Regions from separate parts of the Homo sapiens genome. Here all the other regions are linked to region 2. The links are contacts of gene promoters, found by promoter capture Hi-C in human tissues and cell types (Jung and others, 2019). All regions are on one chromosome and are shown on one strand. Each heading gives the region's core, a stretch centred on a gene start or on the middle of the fragment in contact. The rest is flanking DNA. Distances are from core to core; before and after follow the strand shown. Region 1 overlaps RFX2 (regulatory factor X2). Region 2 holds the start of CAPS (calcyphosine). Region 3 overlaps RFX2 (regulatory factor X2).

Region 1 (4,092 bases), core at 271-2,770, 130 kb before region 2:
GTCTTCCTGCCAAGCCCCTCTCTCAGGCTCTCCCAGGCCTAGGTGGACTCTGCCTTCCTCTGCAGCAGCCACCATGGACAGGTCTCAGTGCCACTCACGGCCACCATGTGTGTCCCAGGTTTCATCACTGTGGTCCCTCTCTGAGGACTTGCCAGGACCCTGTGAATTCTCCAAGCACACGGCGCCCAGCTCACCTGGAATCAGAATGCCCTTGCGCTGGCATCCTTATTAGCACCATCTTCATCCTTAGCTCCACTCCTGCAACACAGGGGATGGCGTGTCCTCACCCATCACCCCTCGTGATGTATATATGGCAGTCACTGCTACCTGTGACATTCAGGGTTCATGCCGGGAAATCACAGCACTGCAGCCAATGACTCCGAAAGCCCCAGCTCTCAATAAACACACAAAACACTCCTGTTCCTCCCTCGACTCGAGTTCACTTTGACCCTTCCCATTTTGATAGCTTTGTGTGGCCAATCGGTACTCCCAGAAAAATAGCAAAGCCACACTGTGCAGATTTGACTTAGGAGGCTGGAGAGCAGTGGGGTCAGAGAGCGAGGGACCCAGACACAGGGCACCTGGACTCGAGTATTCTGTAGCCAGAGGCAGCACTTGAGCCCTCTGGCTTCATTAACCTCATCAGAAAATGGAAACAAGTCCGGGTTATACTGCAGAAGCGAGGGGCGCCACAGAGTGCTCTCCCACGCAGTGGTGCGGATGGCTATCCAGAGGGCCCCAGCAGTCCCCTCTGTACTAGGGACGATCAGTGTCACCTTGCTGCAGACTACAGACCCACAGAGGCAAAGCTGCCTGGGCGGGTGAAGGTGCATGTGCTTCCGTGTATGTGTGTGTGCATACGTGTGTGTGTGCCCACAATTCGTGCATATGTGTGGTGCATGGGCTGAGTGTATGTGCACACTTGTGTATGTATGTGCATTGTTTGTGTGCCTGCACGTACCTGCCGTGTGTCTGCCCAGGTCGGTGTGAGTGTGCAAGTCTGACCATCACCCCGCCGTCGCCTCTGATCAGTCCTGCCTATGTTTTAATAAAAAGCACATGAACAGACAAACAGCATCTTACATTCTGTGTGTATCCTCAGCACTGACCTCTGACAAGTCTAACTGGCCTTCTCTCCCTTCCCTTTTAGAGGGTGTTGGTCCAGGCAGCCAGCTCCAATCCCAAAGGGGCCCAGATGCAGCCGATCTCCCTCCCCAGAGTTCAGCAGGTACCCCAGCAGGTAATGACAAGCACCGCAGCACCGTGCAAACCGGGGCGCAGTTAGCACTCAGCAATCCAGAACAATCTCTGAAGGATGCATCCTTTTCTGTGGCTGCTGTTCCTTGTTGTAAGCTTCAGTTTCTTAGCCAAAAGACTTTTCCAGAAGCTGTGCAATTTTAAAAAAATCATTTACTGCAGATAGTTTTGCAGAAAGCCAAGAAAGCTGGTGATCTTTCGTTCATTCAGAAATTCAGCAAGCATTTGGGGAACCAGTGAGCACCCCGCACCTGCTGGGTGGAGCTCAGGTAGAAATGCAGACAGAAACAAAGGGCTCTGGACTGGAGGAACCATCTGCTAGTGAGTGCCATACCCTCAGATGCGGGCACAACAGAGGAAATGCTTCTTATGATTTCAATTATCTAAGAACAAAGTTTGAAAGCACGGCTGACCAGCCAAGTAGCAACACAGATCATCAGCTTGGGGACACTCTAGAAGCATGGTTAGCAAACTGTTTCCAGAAAAGGCCAAATTATACATTTTTGGGGGTTTGTGGTCCAGGCAGTCTCTGGAACAACCACTCAATTCTGCCATTGTATCGCAAAAGCAGCCATAAATGATATGCAACCAAATGGGTGTGGCTGTGTGCCAATAAAACTTTATTTACAAAAACAGGCAGTGGGCCAGATTTGGCCCTCAGGGCCGGAGTTTGCCAACTGTGCCCTGCAGAATCCTGAATTAAAGTTAACTCAGGCTCCTCCCTAAAAGGAGCCCTGAGGCCCTAGAGAATGCACCGCTCTTCAGGAGGGTCCTGCCTAGATTGGCAGTCTGTTCACAGGCATTTGTCAGGTGACTGTGTCCATGAGAACTAGGAAGGTTTGCAGGATCACAGGAAGGAAAAGGCTCCAGACAGGCCCAGCGGGGACGCAGGGCCTCAGGCCAGTGGCTCTGTCTTAGCTGCTGTCTGTCAAGGCACTCCCCAGAGACACCAAGGAGAGGAGATTCCAGAAGCTTCCACCACTTTTCTGGTGCTGGGCCTGCCCCAGCTCTTTCTGTAACTTCTGCATTTCACTTGGACCCCAGAATTCGACATTTGACTTCCACCCCTGGGGCATCACCCAACAGATGTTAACCCCTGGAACTTGTGATTCTGGGGGTGGTGCGTTGGACAAGTGCATACCATGCTCAGTGGTCCAAGGAGGGGCAGGTCAGCCCCATCCTGCAGCTTCAAGCACAAGAGGAAGGTCACCATGACACCATGACACCCGAACAAGCCCACTTCTGTGGCCCTCCATCTTCTCACCCCAAAATTCAGTGGATGTAGACAGCCACTAAGATGCCCTCTGGGGTGAGAGTTTGAAGTCCCATGTGCAAAGCGTTTGGCTTCCACTGCTCGGACTAGAGTCCCTCGGGGCCTGTCAGCCGAGGCTCTGAACTGATGTTTCAGAGAGGGGAGGGCAGGGCAGCGGGGGTGTGCTGGGGTCCCCCCATTGCCCCATCTCTCCAGGCATGCCGCTCCTTCCCACTCTGTTCAGACCATCACATTCTCTCCCCTCCTCTCTGCCAGGGAAGGGGCACCAGGGCCACCCACGGGGGGTGTTGGGGCCATGTAGAGTCTAATCTGCTCAGCCCCCTGTGCACTGCAGCCTGCACGCCAGCTTGAGCTACAGAGGGAGACCCTGTCGCAAAAAAACAAACAAACAAACAAAAAAAAAAAACAGAAACCAGGGACAGTCCTGTGAGCCAAGGCTGGGCCTCTGTCCACAACTCTAGTTTCCACTGCACTGGAGGAGCGTTGTCATTCTCCTGGTCCCGCCCCCACGTATACAGAGGAGCCAGGGCGCACAGACACGCTAGCAGAGCTCTGGGGATCAGTCGCAGCTCCCTGAACTGTGTGGGCCCGTTTGGAATATGTCGTCTGTACATTACTGTCTCCTCAGTGTCTTTCTAGGCGTGCCGACTGTGGGCGGGAACATTGTCATTTGGTACTAAATGTTCATAAAGGCAATAGAAGACACGTCTAGCTTGAATAATCTGCAGGCAACTCACGAGGGCGTGACTGGCGGTAACGCAGCGTATCCGATGTTTCAGGTGCAGCCGGTGCAGCACGTGTATCCTGCCCAGGTGCAGTACGTGGAAGGGGGAGACGCCGTCTACACCAATGGAGCCATGTGCGTGCTTCTCCCGCGGGCCACACCCGGAACCCTCTCCCTGACTCCAGCCTTTGCCACCTGGGGAGGCATCAAGCAAATTCCTCTCCCTTATGCTTTTGGCGATGTGTTCACTAAATACTGTTAAAATGCTATTAGGAAACTGGGCAATATCTCTACAAAAAATTTTAAAATTAGCCAGACATGGTGACAAGTGCCTAGAGTCCCTCCCAGGTAATCAGGAGGCCAAGGTGGGAGGATCGCATGAGCCCAGGAGTTGGAGGCTGCAGTGAGCTATGATCACGCCTGACTGATGGAGCAACACCCTGTCCAAAAAAAAAAGGAGCGGGGTGGGAGCTGAGGGATTAGGACATCATAACCCTGTGGAGATTTCAGAAATCACAGACTTTTGTACTTTTTACTTTTAGAAAAGATAGTCTTGGAAAAAAAAAAAAAAAGGCTAATCCTAACTCTTCATTCTGAAGTCTCAGTCTTTGAGATCCAGAAACCATCCACCCCTGTGTGTTTTCCCCTCGCCTCTGTTAAACTCCAGCTTTGTATAATGTTGATAGAACTTGATTTTCCATGTTGCAAGGATGTCTAGAGTTTTCTGCTCTGTAACTGTGTGATGCTTGGGGTAGGAAAGTATGCATCTCCCGTGCAGCTCACTTTACTTTAGACGTGAGTCCTTTCGCCTGCTTGTCTGTTTCCATTTGGCCTGGAT
Region 2 (4,554 bases), core at 2,014-4,513:
GGCCGGGAACCACACACCCCACTGGGCCGGCCACAGTCTGGACCCGCACGTCCTGTTCAAAAGCAGACTCGGGAACTGCCTGAATGTGGTTTGGGACACGAGACCTCATCATATTGATGAGCGAACAAACAAGAACATTTCCTCCCTCCCCTCCTTTGAATTGAAATGGCACATTAAGACTTGTCACGGCTTCTCACTGGGACTGGAGACCTCGTTCCTTCACCCCGCGTGTCGCCAGCCTCTGGGTCCAGCCAGAGCCCCTGGCTTCTCCGCCACCCACACCCTTCCCACCCTGCTGTGGGGCCCTGCCTTTGTGGGGAGCAGCCAGCCCTCTGCCCCTGCCCAGGGCTCCCCAACTATAGGCCTGGGACCCCCGCCCAGCTTGGGGGGCTGCTCGTACGAGTGTAGACACTGGGCCCATTGGACGTGCTGTTAACTACTATCTTCATTTCCCACTTCCCCTCTCTGATTGGGGGTGTATATTTTACATCTTTTTTTCTTTTTATTTTCGAAGGCTTTGTTTTGGTTTCTTAGGTTAAGATGCTCTCGAGCGTTGAGCAGGCACAGCTCTGTCGAGGTCCCTGTCCCCCACCTGTGGTTCTGGCCTCTGAGGTTGGGGGACTACTTGTTTCCCACCCCAGGTTCCTCCAGGCCAAGTCATGGGGTGATGAGGAGTTGGGGCCCTGTCTGTCCTAGGCCTGGAGAGTGCCTGTCTGGGAAAAGGTCACTGGACCTGGAAGGGTCCCCAGGGTCCCCTGACTCCCGTCTCCATCTGTCACGTGGTTCACCATCATCAGGCACCAGGCGCAAACTGCTTCCCGCTGTTGGCCATCCCTTCCCCAGCCACAGGTGTCCCTGCCCCCAGGACAGTCCAGGGCCAGGGGCTTCTGTGAGAGGCAGAGGGGGACCCTCACCAAATCTTGGTGGAAGAGCCCAGGGGCTGGTCCCAGAACAGGCAGTCTCACAAGCACGCAGCACACTGGAGTGGACGCCTGTGCCCACCCGAGCCTGGAGCATGGCCAAGAGCCAGCTTGCACCACCCACCTGGGAGGCCGAGGAGGAGGTCCCCTGGGCACAGGGCCTCTTTGGGACTTCAGAGGAAATCTCCCAGTCCCACTCTCGGAGGGTTAAGAGAAGGCCTCCTGCAGCTGTGCCGTCCACACCTCTAGGTCGCCAGAGCCCTGGCCCCCAGCCCCCAGCAAGCCTGAGCCCGGGAAGAACCAGAGGCCCTCCCGAGAGACCCAGTCACACGTCTCTGCTTTAAGCCTTAGCCAGCTAGTGACGAGTACAACGAGATAACGCCCATGTGTTTTGGAACATTTATGTAAGATTGTCATATGAAATGTATTTGGGAACTACATTAAACTTTTAACTAAAACCCTGGCCTCTGCATGCCCCAGGGGCCTCAGGAAGCCCCTGACCAGGAACGGCCTCCACCTCCCCGGGCGAGGACCTCCAGCAGCCTGGGGCCTCATGCTCCCACCCAGCGTGTCACCAGTGCTGGGGTCCAGCCACAGCCCTGTTCTCTCCACCACCACCCGCACTTTACCCCCACCCCTGCTGCAAGGCCCCGCCGGTCTGCCCCCGCCCAGAGCTCCCAGCCTCGGGCCGCTCACCAGAATGTAGATACTGGGCCCGCTGGACATGTTACCTGCTATTTTTATTCCCCATTTGCCATCTTCTGATTGGGGGTTGATGTTTTACAGATTTTTTTTTCAAAGGCTTTATTTCAGTTTCTGAGGTTAGGATGCCCCTGTGCCCCTCGCTCCACACCTGGGCAGGTCTAAACTTCCTTCCAGGATGGCCTCCACACACAGCCTCCCACCTGGGGTCACCTGGCTTCCTGGGGGACCCGCAAGGGAGGGGCAGGGAGCAGCAGTCCGGGTGCGGGGATCGGGGGACCTCGGCGGGGGCATCCACAGGGGCTGCAAGATCTCTGGTCAGCATGGCGTGGGTGGGGAGAGCGTTTCTCCCTGGGGTCCTGAGCCAGTGACTCCTGTTAGGACCTTTGTCCCACCTCCGCCTGGTGGACCGGCAGGGACCTGGTCTAGCCAGTCCTGCAGCCTCCATTCCCCCACCTGCCCCTCCCCGCTCTGTGGTGTGGCTGCCCAGGAGAGAAGGGGCCCAGGGAAGGGAGGTCTCCGGCAGGGGTGGGGAGTGACAGGCCAGGGCAGCAGGGCTGAGCCGGAGCTGCTCACAGCTGCCAGGCACTGGTCATCATGGCCACGAACTCCTCATCCGTGTTCATGGAGGCACTCACGCCGCTGTAGTAGTCCTGGAATTCCGCCAGTGTGACCTGGGAACAGAGGGCCGTGAGGGGGCACGGCCGAGGAACTGCCTGGGGAGGGGGCCCCCCGCGCAGCCACCCACCTGCCCGTCCTTCTCAGAGGAGTCGAAGTTGTCCAGGAAGCGGCGCAGCACCTCGTCCTCGGTCCACTCCCCACTGCGCACCTTGGGGTGGGCACGGCCACTGTACACCCCGCGGAGGTCGTCCACCGTCACGACGCCGTCCCCACTGCGGTCCAGCTTGGCAAATGCAGCTGCGATGACAGCCTCCCGGGCCTGGGACATGGGGGGCTGGGACAGGAGGTGGTGACTGGGGGTGGTGGGTAGCACACCCAAACCCCCAAGACGCTGTGCAGAGCACTGGGGCTGTATGCCCCAGCAGGCGCCTCTTAACAGCAGCTCTTAGGGAGGAGTCCCCGTCTCCGCATCTCAGCATCCTCTGTCGCCCCATGCCCAGGGCACACGCCTTGACTGTGAGGTGGGGGCTCACCCGCAGCGCCCGAAGGAACTCCTCCAGATCCAGCGTCCCGCTGCCATTGCGGTCCCACTTCCTGCACACACCCTCTGCCTCCGCCTGGTCCAGCACCAGCCCGAGTTTGGCCAGACCCTGCCGGAACTCATCAGCGTCCAGGGATCTGCTCCCGTCCCGGTCTAGTTGGCGGAAAAACCTGGAGGCAGGGGACACGGTTGGAACAGTGGTCTCAGGGGCCGGGGTCAGGAAGGTGAGAGGGGACAGCTCACCTGGCCAGGCCCTGGATGCCCGAGGCCCCGCGGGACAGGCACTGTGCCCGGAGTTTCTCCATGGTGGCATCCACGGCGTCCATGCTTGGTCTGGGCTCTGGGCAGCTGGAAGGGAGAGAGGTCAAGGTGGGGACTCCCGCAAGCCCACCCTGGCCGACTGCCCCTTGTTCAGATGCTCACCTGGCCTGCGTCTGTCCCAGAGTCCTGCCTGCGGGGCCTTGTGTTAGCTGTGTTGTGCCTGGGGAGACTGTTGCTAGTGGAAGGTGCCTCTGGAGATGGGGTGGGGCCCAGCTGCATGAATGCACTGTGCTGGGCAGTGGGGAGTGGGGGAGGGATGGGTGCGCCCAGCCTGACTGCTTACTCAACTGCCAGCCCCACAGGGCCTGGGACAGAGCCAGATCCCTGTGGCACTGCATCCCTTCCTGGCTCCAAGGAGGAGGGGCAGGCCACTGCCCTGCAGGGGCTGAAATGCCCTGGATGGAGACAAGTCCGTGGCTGGGGAGGCTTGACGCATGATTCCTGTGTGACCCTGGACAGGTCCCTTTCCCTCTCTGGCTTCACAGGGGCTTCTCAGCCCGAGCCAGGGCTGACAAAATTGCTGAGGAATCAAAGTTCAAAAGGGCCCCAGGTTCTGACCGGCCACTGCGGCTCATGCCTGAAATCCCAGCACTTTGGGAGGTCTAGGTGGGAGGATCACTTGAGCCCAGGAGTTTGGACCAGCCTGGGGAACATATAGAGAACTTGTTTCTATTGTACAGCAACAAAAATGCCCCAGGTGGGCTGGGCGCGGTGGCTCATGCCTGTAATCCCAGCACTTTGGGAGGCCGAGGTGGGCAGATCACAAGGTGAGGAGTTTGAGACCAGCCTGACCAACATGGTGAAACCCCGCCTCTACTAAAAATACAAAAATTAGCCGTGCATGATGGTGGGCGCCTGTAATCCGAGCTACTTAGGAAGCTGAGGCAGGAGAATCGCTTGAACCCAGGAGGTGGAGCTTGCAGTGAGCCAAGATTGCACCACTGCACTCCAGTCTGGGCGACAGAGCAAGACTCCATCTCAAAAAGAAAAAAAAAAAAAAAGCCCCAGGTGGCCCAGGTCCTGGGGCCCTAAGACCTCCCACCCAGGCCCACCTCCAAGGGCAGGTCCTGCAACCCACAGAGACTGAGCTGAGCCTGAGGGACACCTCTGCTCACTGCCACAAAGCTTGTCACTGGCCGTTGTTAGGAGCCAGTCCCAGGATTTCTGTCTTTACGGATCTTTTGTTGTTGGTTTTCAGGCCTGAAACGTGACTTAGTGGGCTGGCTCCTGACAAGGTGGTGAGCCAGAGGTTGTGACCCCGAGTGGAAGAGCAGCCCTGATCCTGGACATAAACCTCAAGAGACGAAGCCACCTCACTGAAGGCCTTCAACGGAGACATCGGATATACCTGCCCGCTAAGATAGGTGGGTTTTCCAGGACTTGAAACGTGGGCCCTGTTTGAGGACCCACTGTTCGCCCCGACCCAAGGATCATCAATCGGAGCCTTCT
Region 3 (4,034 bases), core at 1,189-3,688, 160 kb before region 2:
GAACCTGCATGTCTTAGAATGTTTACCAATGAATTACAACTTTTAAAATGATATGCAAGTAATGGCCGGGCGCCGTGGCTCACGCCTATAATTCCAGCACTTTGGGAGGCCGAGGCAGGTGGCTCTCTTGAGGTCAGGAGTTCGAGACCAGCCTGGCCAACATGGTGAAACCCCGTCTCTACTAAAAATACAAAAATTAGCTGGGCATGGTGGCATGTGCCTGTAATCCCAGCTACTTGGGAGGCTGAGGCACTAGAATAGTTTGAACCCGGGAGGTGGAGGTTGCAGTGAGCTGAGATTGTGCACTGCACCCCAGCCTGGGAGACAGAGCAAGATTCCATCTCAAAAAATAAAATGATATGCAAGTAATACAAGTAACATTCTCCTGGGAAGGACCACCATCTACAGCAGGAGATTCAGAAATGAAAATTTCTCTTTTCGTCTTTCTGTCTATCCCACCTCATATGAGGTAAGCACTGTTAGTCATATAACTTGTGTCCTTCTAGATCTTTTTAAGGCCCCTTTACCTATTTTATAGTATGTATAGCTGGGGTTTTTTCAACATAAATTTATTCTGCAAATATTTGAGAGCCTACTGTGTGCCAGGCACTGCAGATGTTGGCTTTCTTTCTTGGAGACGGTACCTCTTCTTTTTAATGGCAGCATAGTTTTAGAGCTAGGATGCACCATAAGGTACTTAATGATTTTCCTGTTGATGAACATTTGTTTCTAAATTTTTATGACTTAAACTAATGCCACTGGGGACAGGTCGTCAATATACCTTTTTTTTTTTTTTTTTTACAGCTGTGCTGAGATCTGTTTTACATACCGTAAAGCTCACCCATTTGAAGTGTATGGTTCAGTGGGTCTTAGTATACTATCTTCACAGAACATTTTCATCACTCCGAAAAGAAGAAGAAACCCTGAACCTGCCATGAACAGCCACTTGCCCTTCCTCCTCCCAGCCCCGGGCAACTGTGAATCCACTTTCTGTCTCTGTGGATTTGCCTGTTTTGAACCTTTCATATAAACAGAATCACACACTATGTGGCCTTTTGTGACTGGCTTCTTCCACGTAACATAATGTTTTCAGGGTCCACTGTCCATCCGTTTACAGCATGTGCCAGTGCCTCGTTCCTTTTTTTTTTTTTTTTTTTTGAGATGGAATTTTGCTCTTGTTGCCCAGGCTGGAGTGCAATGGCGCGATCTTGGCTCACTGCAACCTCCGCCTCCCGGGTTCAAGCGATTCTCCTGCCTCAGCCTCCCAAGTAGCTGGGATTACAGGCATGTGCCACCACGCCCGGCTAATTTTGTATTTTAATAGAGACAGGGTTTCTCCATGTTGGTCAGGCTGGTCTCAAACTCCTGACCTCAGGTGATCCACCCGCCTCAGCCTCCCAAAGTGCTGGGATTACAGGTGTGAGCCACCGCGCCCGGCCGCCTTCGTTTATCCATCCATCAGTTGACAAACATTTGGGCTGTTGCTACTTTGGGGCCATTAGGACAACGCTGCTGTGAACATTGGTATCCAAGCATTTGTGTGGCCATGCACTGTTTAGCACATGTCTACTTCTGCAGGATGAATTTTGAGGAGGGGAAAAAGACCCCACTTATAGCTAGCTCTTTGTCTCTGACTGTGTAGGTTTGAACATCTCGTAAGTCTTGAGAAATGCTTGGAGGCCATTTCCTGCAGAGGCACACGCCCCTCTTGGGTGGGCTGGGGGAGGCAGTGGCAGAGCCCAGCCCACCTGCCCCAGCCACCAGTGCTCCCGGGTTTTGCATTCAGCCCCTGGCACACACTCATGGCTAACCCTGGTGCCCTTGCCTGTCTTTGACCCAGCACTGGCGAAGGAATTGGCAAAGCCACCAGGTTAATGATGCAAGCCCCAGAAACTTGCGGCATAGATGAGAAGGCAAATGGCCTCTCCTTTTGGAGAACTAAAGAGATTTAAGGAAGCTTGCTGGCTCACTCCCTCTCACCGGCAAGGATGGCACTAAACACAGTCCGCATCAATCACTGTTTTTGTTATGCGATTTATGAGTTGCTCAGCCGAGAATAAGGTTGCACGTGGTAGGAGGAGTTCTGTGTGTACCGAGGTCTCATGGAAGGACTGGATTTCTAGGGAAGAAAAGGGAAAAGGGAGTTGATGTTAAAATATCATTTCTATAACAGTAATGCAGTAGTGTTCATCTAGAAGGAGAGCTGCCACATTTGGCAAGATGCTGGGAGAGAAACAAGTATTAAGTACTTGGTTAAAATGACAAACCCCACAAATATGCCCTGGAATGAATATAGCTCATAGCAGGAGGCACTCCCTAAAGGGCTTAGCAACATCACAAATAGCGAAGAGTTTTTGAAATCACAAATAGCAAACAGCATAACTGCTTTTAGTTTCAGATATTTAAATCTGCAAAAAATCAGTAAATTATGTGGGTTACGTTATAATGGTGTGAATTACAACGATGACGCTAATGAACATTTATGGGCATTTTCCGTGTGCTGGGCTGGCCATTAAACTCCACACTTTGTAGGACTCCTCTCATTTAACACAACCACCCAACACAGATAGAAGTATTTTCTCCGTTTATGGACAAAGAAATGGAAGTGCAGAAAGATTTAAGTCCCTGGCTGAGGTCACCCAGCTAGAAACTGGAGGACCCAGGAACTGGACCCAGGCACCGGACCCAGGCACCCTCGCCTAGCCTCCTGTTTTAGAGCTAGGATGCACCGTAAGGTAGTTAATGGTATTCCAGTTGATGAACGTTTGTTTCTTATTTATGTATTTATTTATTTTGAGACAGAGTCTCTCTCTGTCACCCAGGCTGGAGTACAGTGGCACCATCTCGGCTCACTGCAACCTCAGCCTCCCGGGTTCAGGCGATTCTCCTGCCTCAGCCTCCCAAGTAGCTGGGATTACAGGCATGCACCACCACGCATGGCTAATTTTTGTATTATTTTTTAGTAGAGATGGGGTTTCGCCATGTTGGCCAGGCTGCTCTCGAACTCATGACCTCAAGTGATCTGCCCACCTTGGCCTCCCAAAATGTGCTGGGATTACAGGCATGAGCCACCGCCCCCAACCTCGTTTCTAATTTTTTGTGAACACCAAGCTCCGAAAGCCAAGTAAAGGGGTGACGCTGTGTATTTCAGAGCTCGATATTCCCTCTGCTTTCTTCCTCTCCTCTGTCCCCTATGCCAGATCCTCCAACTGTTCATGACCTTTGAACTTGAGAAGGGACCTCTTTTCTGCTTTATCTACACCTGCTTTCCTGGTGATCTCACCGAGGTACAAGAGTTGAAATGCATCTTAGAACCTCCAGTGTCCTAGTGTCTGCAGCCTGGCTCACTCCCCGAATCCTGGACTTGTGTACCTAGCTGCCTAGGTGGCAGCTGCATGTGGGTGTCATCTGATGGGCATCTGAGGCTTCTGTCACCCAAAACTGGGTGCCTGATTCGACCTCACACTTGTCTCTCCCCAGACCACGGGCTTCCCCAGCTCAGCACCGGGCAGCTCCATTCTCTAGGTGCTCAGGCCAGCCCCAAGCCTTAAGTCAGCCTCGACTCCTCTCTTTCTTTCACCCTTTATGTCAAACCCGTCAGCAAACCTGGCTGGCTCTGTCTTCAGGTGTCTCCCAAATGAGAGCACTGCTATCACGTAAGTCTTTGTCACCTCTGACCTGGTTGTCCAGCCCTGACGTTTGCTTCCATTGACCGTTGATACTTCCAAAATATCTGTCAGATTGTGTCCCTGTGCCCTAAACCTTCCAGTAGCTTCCCAGCACACTCAGAGCGAAAGCCAAACACTCCACTGTGGCCTCCTTGTGTCTCTAAGTCCATCTTCTCCTCCTCCTCCTCCTCCTCCTCCACCTTCTCCTCCTCTTCTTTCTCCTCTTCCTCCTTCTCCTCCTGTCTTAATCTGTTTGGGCTGTTTCAGCAAAAGGCCATAGACTGGGTGGCTGTAAACAACAGACACACATCTCTCAGCCCTGGAGGTGGGAAGTCTGAGAAGAGGGTGCCAGCAGGGTCAGGTTCT

The links. Contacts are between HindIII fragments. The study calls those that stand out against the background at their distance.
Region 1: a fragment that was not itself captured here is called in contact with the fragment with the promoter of CAPS in region 2 in 1 of the 25 tissues and cell types used here (liver).
Region 3: a contact is called between a fragment that was not itself captured here and the fragment with the promoter of CAPS in region 2, in 4 of the 25 tissues and cell types used here (H1 embryonic stem cells, IMR-90 fibroblasts, lymphoblastoid cells and 1 more).

What each region holds. Positions count from the first base shown.
Region 1 is chr19:6,041,341-6,045,432 of GRCh38, reverse strand. RFX2 (regulatory factor X2) reads left to right here. Exons shown (of 18, transcript NM_000635.4): 3 at 1,151-1,240; 4 at 3,310-3,389. Among named protein-coding and RNA genes, the nearest start is that of RFX2-AS1, 19 kb to the left of the region's middle. The HindIII fragment of the contact is 4,983 bases long and covers 1-4,011 here.
Region 2 is chr19:5,912,963-5,917,516 of GRCh38, reverse strand. CAPS (calcyphosine) reads right to left here and starts at 3,263. Exons shown (of 5, transcript NM_004058.5): 1 at 3,208-3,263; 2 at 3,028-3,132; 3 at 2,777-2,954; 4 at 2,371-2,577; 5 at 1,306-2,296. The coding sequence starts at 3,110. The coding sequence ends at 2,195. It overlaps RANBP3 (RAN binding protein 3), which reads left to right. Exons shown (of 17, transcript NM_007322.3): 17 at 1-1,378. The HindIII fragment of the contact is 10,666 bases long and covers 608-4,554 here.
Region 3 is chr19:6,075,105-6,079,138 of GRCh38, reverse strand. All of the region lies in intron 1 of RFX2 (regulatory factor X2), which reads left to right. It overlaps RFX2-AS1 (RFX2 antisense RNA 1), which reads right to left. Exons shown (of 2, transcript NR_199041.1): 2 at 2,015-2,119. Among named protein-coding and RNA genes, the nearest start is that of RFX2-AS1, 15 kb to the right of the region's middle. RefSeq lists an enhancer at 3,979-4,034. The HindIII fragment of the contact is 7,886 bases long and covers 1-4,034 here.